Linked DNA regions of Homo sapiens: region 2 is linked to region 1. The links are contacts of gene promoters, found by promoter capture Hi-C in human tissues and cell types (Jung and others, 2019). All regions are on one chromosome and are shown on one strand. The core of a region is centred on a gene start or on the middle of the fragment in contact, and the rest is flanking DNA. Distances in the headings are between cores, read along the strand shown.

Evidence for each region. The method cuts DNA at HindIII sites, captures the fragments that hold promoters and counts their contacts. A contact is called where the count stands out against the background at its distance.
Region 2: a fragment that was not itself captured here is called in contact with the fragment with the promoter of PUS7 in region 1 in 1 of the 25 tissues and cell types used here (dorsolateral prefrontal cortex).

Annotation. Positions count from the first base shown.
Region 1 is chr7:105,521,004-105,524,934 of GRCh38, forward strand. It overlaps PUS7 (pseudouridine synthase 7), which reads right to left and starts at 1,268. Exons shown (of 16, transcript NM_019042.5): 1 at 1,049-1,268. RefSeq lists enhancers at 95-749, 2,033-2,533 and silencers at 292-437, 647-1,396. The HindIII fragment of the contact is 7,221 bases long and covers 1-1,617 here.
Region 2 is chr7:104,901,248-104,905,746 of GRCh38, forward strand. All of the region lies in intron 2 of LHFPL3 (LHFPL tetraspan subfamily member 3), which reads left to right. All of the region lies in intron 3 of LHFPL3-AS2 (LHFPL3 antisense RNA 2), which reads right to left. Among named protein-coding and RNA genes, the nearest start is that of LHFPL3-AS2, 23 kb to the right of the region's middle. The HindIII fragment of the contact is 4,084 bases long and covers 1-3,397 here.

The sequences.
Region 1 (3,931 bases), core at 18-2,517:
GTCTCAAAAAAATTAAAAAAATAAAAATAAAAAAACCAAAAACATGTTCACAAGGAGTTGTTAAGTACGTACTGTTGGCTACTTTCCTAATGTTTGAACCTAACAATTGCCTAACCAACCCCTTTTCAATAGTGTTGTACAGTCTGATTTTCGACAGATCCCTCAATAGTCGAGGCTCCCCCAGGCCAATGGGGCATAGTCATTTCATAGATGATTAGAGGCTTGGGGATGGGGGGGAGGGAACCTTAGTAACCCTTTATTTTTGGAATGGAAAAAAAAAGTAGTCTGACGGGACCAAATATTTTAAAAACTAAACTCTTTGCCAACCCTACTCGGCAGGCAACGAAGGTGTGCTTCTAAACACCTCTGCGCAGGGCTGACGAGGAGGACTCGAATTTCAGCTTGCACAGCAGCACCTCCATCCACTCGTTAAGCATTCACCCAGCTTGAGGGCTGGAGAAAGCACTCTGAGTCTGCAGCCCGTCCACTCCTACTCTGGGAAATGCATACAAAGCAAGCAGTCCCCAGAGCCCGCGTGGCGCCTAGTAGGCTCCCAGTGAGCGGCGACGCAGGACACAGGGGTGGAACACGTGGGCTGGACCCACAGAAGGCAGGCGCGGCGAAGCAGTGGCACCGTGAAGGGCTTCAGGGCCAGTGTTCCTCTGACGGAGGGACAAGAGTTTAGGGAGCGTCCGGGGCAAAGAAAGGGAGGAGTGGGAAGGGGGCCCCCGGGGGACAGCGCCGCGCGGGGAGGAGGGGAGCGCTCGGGCGCGGCGCCTCCGGACGACTGGCCGGGCAGAGCGGAGCGGGGAGCGGGGAGCGGAGAGCGGCGCCTGCACCGCCGAAGCGCAGGACCCACTGGGTTCCAACCGTGCTCCCGCTGGCACGATCCATAATGGAGGCGCCGCGGGCTCTGACCACTGCGGGGCCGCCTTCCCAGTCCGCCTTCCCAGTCCGCACTGCCTCTTGGGGCGGGGCCCTGGGGCTGGGGCTGGGGCCAGGGCCAGGCCGAGGAGCCCCGGCGGCCGCGGGGAGGCCGCGCACTTACCCGGAGCCTGGGAGCGCGGGCGCGGCGTGAGCTGGGCGGCGAGGTGGCCAGCGCTCTGGTTGGGACGCAAGAGAGCGGCGAAGGCCACTTGGATGAGCCAGCGGCTAGGGCGGCCAGGCAAAAGCAGCGCTTTCCGCGCGGAGGACCAGATGCGCTCCAGCCGACTCACCGGCGGCCGGGCTCGCACACGTGCGGCGCAGCGACGCGCCGCGGCCCGACTGGACCCGCCCCGGGGGCGGAGTCCGCTCCCTGCCGCCGGCCCCGCCCCCGGCCCACCCACTCGGAGCGGCCTGCAAGCCAGGGAGCGCCCCAACGCGGACTCCCAGCCTACGCGCGTTCACCCTGGACCTTCCTCGCGACCGCGCCTGAGTCGCACCAGCGGCAGAGAGCGATTTCACCAAGCATCTAAGAGTTCTTTAGATCTTTAGGAAGTCTAAGGCAGCGATTGCCTCCTTTGGTGTTATATTCTAAGTGTTTCCTTCACATAGTTGTGGCCCTTTCACGTTGCACCGACCACGCAGTTGACAATAATGGAAAGAGAATCACTTTAGGGACTAAATATTGTTCTACATTTGATCCTGGGAATGTAGTGGATCTAAAAGCACCATCTTCCTACTTCTTACCGCTCTGGCTTGATGGCTTGCCATAGGATCTGCTTCAAGAAACCGGATCATAGGTTTTTTTTGTTTTGGTTTGGTTTGGTTTTGACAGAGTCTCGCTCTGTCGCACAGGCTGGAGTGCGGTGGCGTGAACACAGTTCACTGCAGCCTCGACCTCCCAGGCTCAAGCAATCCTCCCACTTCAGTATCCCAAGTAGCTGGGACTACAGGTGCATCCCACCGCACCCAGGCTAATTTTTTTGGGGGTGGGGGGTAGAGACAAGATTTCACTATGTTGCCCAGGCTCTAATAGTTTTTTTGCTTTTTGTTTGTTTGTTTGTTTTTTGAGACGGAGTCTTGCTCTGTCGCCCAGGCTGGAGTGCAATGGCGCGATCGCTGCTCACCGCAACCTCCGCCACCCGGGTTCAAGCGATTCTCCTGCCTCAGCCTCCCGAGTAGCTGGGATTACTGGCGCACGCCACCATGCCCGGCTTATTTTTTGTATTTTTAGTAGAGTACGGGGTTTCACTATGTTGGCCAGGCTGGTCTCGAACTCTTGACTTCGTGATCCGCCCGCCTCCGCCTCTGTGTTGAGATTACAGGCGTGAGCCACCGCTCCCAGCCTCTAATAGTTTTTCCGTTTTGTTTTATTTTGTTTGAGAGAGAGTCTCACTCTGTTGCAGGGTTCAAGCGATTCTCCTGCATCAGCCTCCCGAGTAGCTGGGCCTACGAGTGCTTGACATCATGCCAGACTAATTTTTTTGACGGGGTTTTTGCCTGTTGGCCTTGAACTCCTGACCTCAAGTGATTTGCCTGCCTAGGCCTCCCAAAGTACTGGGATTATAGGCATGAGCCACCATGCCCTGCCCAATTTGTTTTTTTGTTTTGTTTTTTACACAATGAAATATACTATTACCGGCCGGGCGCAGTGGCTCACGCCTGTAATCCCAGCACTTTGGGAGGCCGAGGTGGGCGGATCATGAGGTCAGGAGTTTGAGACCAGCCTGGCCAACATGGTGAAACCCCGTCTCTACTAAAAATACAAAAAATTACCCAGACGTGGTGGCACGCGCCTGTAATCCCAGCTACTTGGGAGGCTGAGGCAGGAGAATCGCTTGAACTCAGGAGGCGGAGGTTGCAGTGAGCTGAGATCGCACCATTGCACTCTAGCTTGGGCAACAAGATGGAAACTCTGTCTCAAAAAAAAAAAAAGAAATATATTATTACCATACAATTCAGCAATTACACTCCTTGATATTTACCTAAAGGAGTTGAAAACTATGTTCACACAAAAACCTGCACAAGTATGTTTATAGCTGCATTATTCATAATTGCCAAAACTTAAGGACGGGCCGGGTATGGTAGCTCACGCCTGTAATTCCAGCACTTTGGGAGCCCGAGGTGGGCAGATCACGATGTCAGGAGTTCAAGACCAGCCTGGCCAAGATGGTGAAACCCCCATCTCTACTAAAAATACAAAAATTAGCCAGGCGTGATGGTGGGCGCCTGTAATCCCAGCTACTCAGGAGGCGGAGGCAGAAAATTGCTTGAACCCAGGAGGCAGAGGTTGTGGTGAGCCAAGATCATGCCACTGCACCCCAACCTGGGGGACAGAGTGAGACTCCGTCTCAAAAAAAAAAAGACCAAGATGTCCTTCAGTAGCTGAATAAACTGTGCTGTATCCAAACAATGGAATATTATTTGGTGCCAAAAAGAAATGATCTTAGCAAGCCATGAAAAGACATGGAGGAAACATAAATAAATATTTTTTATTTTATGTATTTATTTATTCTGAGATCTAAATAGATAAGGTGATCTGCCCACCTCGGCCTCCCGAAGTGCTGGGATTACAGGCGTAAGCCACCATGCCCAGCCTTAAACGCATATTACTAAGTGAAAGAAACCAATCTGGGCCAGGCATGGTGACTCAGGCCTGTAATCACAGCATTTTGTGAGGCTGAGGCAGGTGGATCACTTGAGGTCAGGAGTTCGAGACCAGCCTGGCCAACACCGTGAAACCCCATCTCTACCAAAAATACAAAAAATTAGCCAGGCATGGTGGCACACACCTGTAATCCCAGCTACGCGGGAGGCTGAGGCGGGAGAATTGCTTGAACCTGGGAGGTGGAGGTTGGGGTGCGTCGGGATCATGCTATTGCACTCCAGCCTGAGCGACAGAGTAAGACTGTCTAGAAAACAACAACAACAACAACAACAAAAAAAAAAAACAAAAAAAATCTGAAAAGGACACGAGCTATATGAATCCAACTAAATGACAAAATGA
Region 2 (4,499 bases), core at 106-2,605, 620 kb before region 1:
GTTGTAATAACATTCTAATTTTACTCCCCCAACAAAGTGTTTTCCTGATATTCTGTGGGGAGTGGTTGTGTTCTGATCACAGCTGGTTATTATTATTCAGCCTAAGAGTCTGCAGAACTTCTGCATGCCCTGGGGTTTCTGTTGCGTGGTGGTGTCATGCAGTAGGAAGAAAAAATATGCTCTGGTCGCAGTGTCTAAGTAACTCAAATCCAAGCAAACATTCCCAGCACGCCTTCTGATGAGCAGCATGCACTCATGGGCAAGGCTGGGATTAGGGTGAGGCAAGCTAGGTACCTAGGGGGCAAGCTTTTTTGTTTTTTTGTTTGTTTGCTTGTTTTTTGAGACAGTCTTGCTCTGTCATCCAGTCTGGAGTGCAGTGGTGCGTTCATGGCTCACTGCAGCCTCGACCTCCTGGTCTCAAACGATCCTCCCACCTAAACCTCCCACATAGCTGGGACCACTGGTGTGCACCATCACACCTGGCTAATTTTTTTTTATTTTCTGTAGACACAGCATCTCCTTATGTTGCCCAGGCTGGTCTTGAACTCCTGGGTCAAGCAATCCTGCCACCTTAGCCTCCCGAAGTGCTGGGATTACAAGCATGAGCCACCACGACTGGCCCTGCAAGTTTTAAAGAAGCACTCACCTCACACTTGCATGACCCTGCAAGTGAGCTCCTTAAATTTTATACCCTAGACACTCACTTGCCTCACCCTATTCCAGGCCTGGCTCACTGGCTTCACACTTTCATTTTCCCACTTACTTCTCAGCTCCCTGCCCACCACAGATACTGTGGGTCAGAAGTACAGTCCCAGAGTTGACAATACTCAACAAAGAAGAAACCTTTAATGGCCAGGTGCAGTGGCTCATGCCTGTAATCCCAATACTTCAGGAGACCAAGGTGGGAGGATCACTTGAGTCCGGGAGTTTGAAACCAGCCTGGGAAACATAATGAGACCCCATCTCTATAAAAAAAAATTTTAAATTAGCTGGGCATGGTAACGCGTGCCTGTGGTCCTAGTTATGTGGGAGGCTGAGGTGGGAGGATCATTTGAGCCTGGAGGTGGTAGAGGCCACAGTGAGCTATGATTGTGCCGCTGTAGTCAAGAAGCCTGAGTCACAGAGCAAGACCCTGTCTCAAAAAGAAGAGGAGGAAGAGGAGGAGGGAGAGGAGAAGGAGGAGGAGGAGGAGGGGGAGGAGGGAGAAGAAGAAGAGAGCTTTAGGAATGAAGGACTGACTAATCAATAGTGAGATTAGGCCGGGTGCGGTGGCTCACTCCTATAATCCCAGCACTTTGGGAGGCCGAGGTGGGTGGATCACCTGAGCTCAGGAGTTCGAGACCAGCCTGGCCAACATGGTGAAACCCCATCTGTACTAAAAATAAAAAATTAGCTGGGCATGGTGGCGCATACCTGTAATCACAGCTACTCGGGAAGCTTAGGCAGGAGAATCGCTTGAACCAGGGAGGCGGAGGTTACAGTGAGCCGAGATCACGCCACTGCACTCCAGCATGGGCAACAGAGTGAGATTCTGTCTCAAGAAAAACAAAAAGAGTGAAGTTACAGCGAGGGATCTAATGAGGGATTTGGCCATATGAAGGCCACGGGTGACCCAAGACCAGAGCAGATTCAAGAAGGGTTGTTGATGAATGACCTGTTAGGGTCAGGCCCCAGGCTGTGGGCCCAGATGATGAAGGAGAAAGAGAAAGTTTTGTGAAACTGGCCGCAAATGTTCCCGGAACCTTCCTGTAAGAGAGCTGAGGATCTTCCCAGGGAGACATCTGCCCTGCCGGAGGCTTCCTTCTCCCCTCTACCTCCCGCAGGTATGGGTGTCACTACCCTGGGGTCTGATCTAAAGTCCTTCCAACACTCACTGCTCCCTTCCCAGCCCACTGAGAACAGGTCTTACCCTGACTGGGATGCAGCCTTAGATACATGTACTTCCTTCTTGGCAATCTTACTTTTCCTTCATCCTGTGATGTCATAAAGTCAAACCAGGCAGCTTAGCACCAAGGAGAGAGAAACAGGGAGTCTCTGGTTCATGGATGCCAACAAATGATTCACACCAAAGCAGGCTTTTCTATTATGAAATTAGGAGTGTACTTACTTGAGAACCTCAAGAAAATGAGGACTACCCTCCTGACCCCGTTTTCCCCTGCCCCACACACACATAGATGGCCCTCTGTGGTCTCCCTATTCATCCTTCTAGTTATACTTTTTTTTTTTTTTTTTTTTGAGACAGCGTCTTGCTCTGTCACCCAGGCTGGAGTGCAGTGGTGTGATCTCAGCTCACTGCAACCTCTGCCTCCCGGGTTCAAGTGGTTCTCCTGCCTCAGCCTCCCAAGTAGCTTGAGACTACAGGTGCCTGCCACCATGCCTAGCTAATTTTTGTATTTTTAGTAGAGATGGGTTTTCGCCATATTGACCAGGCTGGTCTCGAACTCCTGACCTCAAGTGATCTGCCCACCTTGGCCTCCCAAAGTGCTGGGATTGCAGGCATGAGCCACAATGCCCAGCCAATTTTTTATGGCCACATAGTATTCCATGGTGTATATGTACCACATTTTCTTTATCCAGTCCACTACTAATGGGCCCCTAGGTGGATCCCATGTCTTTCCTATTGTTAATAGTGCTGCAACGAACATATGAGTGCATGTGTCTTTTTGGTAGAAGGATTTATTTTCCTTTGGGCATATAGCCACTAATGGGATTGCTGGGTTGAATGATAGTTCTGTTTTAAGTTGTTGGAGAAATTTCCAAACTGCTTTCCACAGTGGTTGATTGTTTTGCTTTTAATAATATCTAAAGAAAGTATTCCTTTCCGTAGGGCTTCTGCCAGCATGACTCAATCTCAGATAATCATTATAGACTAATCATCATTATGACATGATCATATTTCAATTATCCTCTGTGTAGTCTGGGTATATTAAAGTAACCGTGAGTTCTCTTGCTGAGAGAAGTTCATTAAGATCATAATGTGGATACGATTTTTTTAAGTGTGTTGAAAAACAAGGGGGAACATACCAAAAACAACAACAGAATGATCCAGAGGATTTTCTAGCACACATTCAGAAACCATATCTTATCTTGTGTTTTAAAGGGCTCTGTGACGCAAAACCTCGGCTGGGCACAGTGGCTCATGCCTATAATCCCAACACTTTGGGAGGCCGAGGCAGGTGGATCACTTGAGGTCAGGAGTTCAAGACCAGCCTGGCCAACATGGCAAAACCCTGTCTCTACTAAAAACACAAAAATCAGCCAGGTGTGGTGGCACATGACTGTAATCCCAGCTACTGGGGAGGCTGAGGCAGGAGAATCGCTTGAACCTGGGAGGCAGAGGTTGCAGTGAACCAAGATCATGCCACTGCACTCTGGCCTGGGTGACAGAGTGAGACTCCATCTCAAAAGTAAATAAAAATAAAAACAAATAAATAAAAAATAAAGTGCTCTGTGATGTAAAGCCTAACAGGCTGTTTCCTTTTGGCCCAAATATGGCACACCGTGACCAGCTAGCTGTATTTACCCAACTTCCCAATATATAAGATACCCTTAACCCCTGGTTCACAGTGACAAAAACCTATGAAAATCATTCAAAGAATAAGGTTAATCATACTGTTTGAGGTCTAGCTGTATTGATACAGGATCAGTCCCTAATCTATTGGAGAAAAGGAAAAGTAATTATCCCCTGAGAATTCATCCAAAAGAAACAAAATTTTTTGTGTGTGACAGGGAGGGTCTTACTCTGTCACCCAGGCTGGAGTGCAGTGGTGCGATCTTTGCTCACCACAACCTCGACCTCCTGGGCTCAAGCGATCCTCCCACGTCAGCCCCTTGAGTAGCTGGGACTACAGGCGCACCACCACACTCGGCTAATTTTTGTATGTTTTGTAGAGATGGGGTTTCACTATGATGACTACAAGCTGATCTCAAACTTCTGAGCTCAAAAGATCCTCCCGCCTCAGCTTCCCAAAATGCTGGGATTACAAGTGTGAGCCGTAACACCCAGCCAAGAAATATTTTAAAATATAAATAGATCTTTATATAAAAGATATTCATATTTATAATAATAAATCAGAAACCTTCCTATATGTCTGACAATAGTGAAACAGTTGCAAATGGAATATTGAGCATAGAGTAGAAAGGAATGAGAATGAGGCAGAATATTATGCAGCCATTGAAAATTCATGCTGATGGTGGGGCACAGTAGCGCACACCTGTCATCCCTACACTCTGGGAGGCTGGGGAAGGTGGCTCACTTCAGCTCAGGAGTTCGAGATCAGCCTGGGCAACATGGTGAAACCCTGTCTCTATATTATAAATTAAGTAAATAAATAAATAAAAGAAACTTATGCTGATATGGACAATGGAAATTTAGAAAATTGTCTTTAATGTAATGTTTAAATGTTTAAAGTATCATCTATACTGTAATTACAATTGTATAAAATAATTTCCCATTTAGATAAGGAATGGAAAGAAATATAGGAAGAAAACAGTTGTGT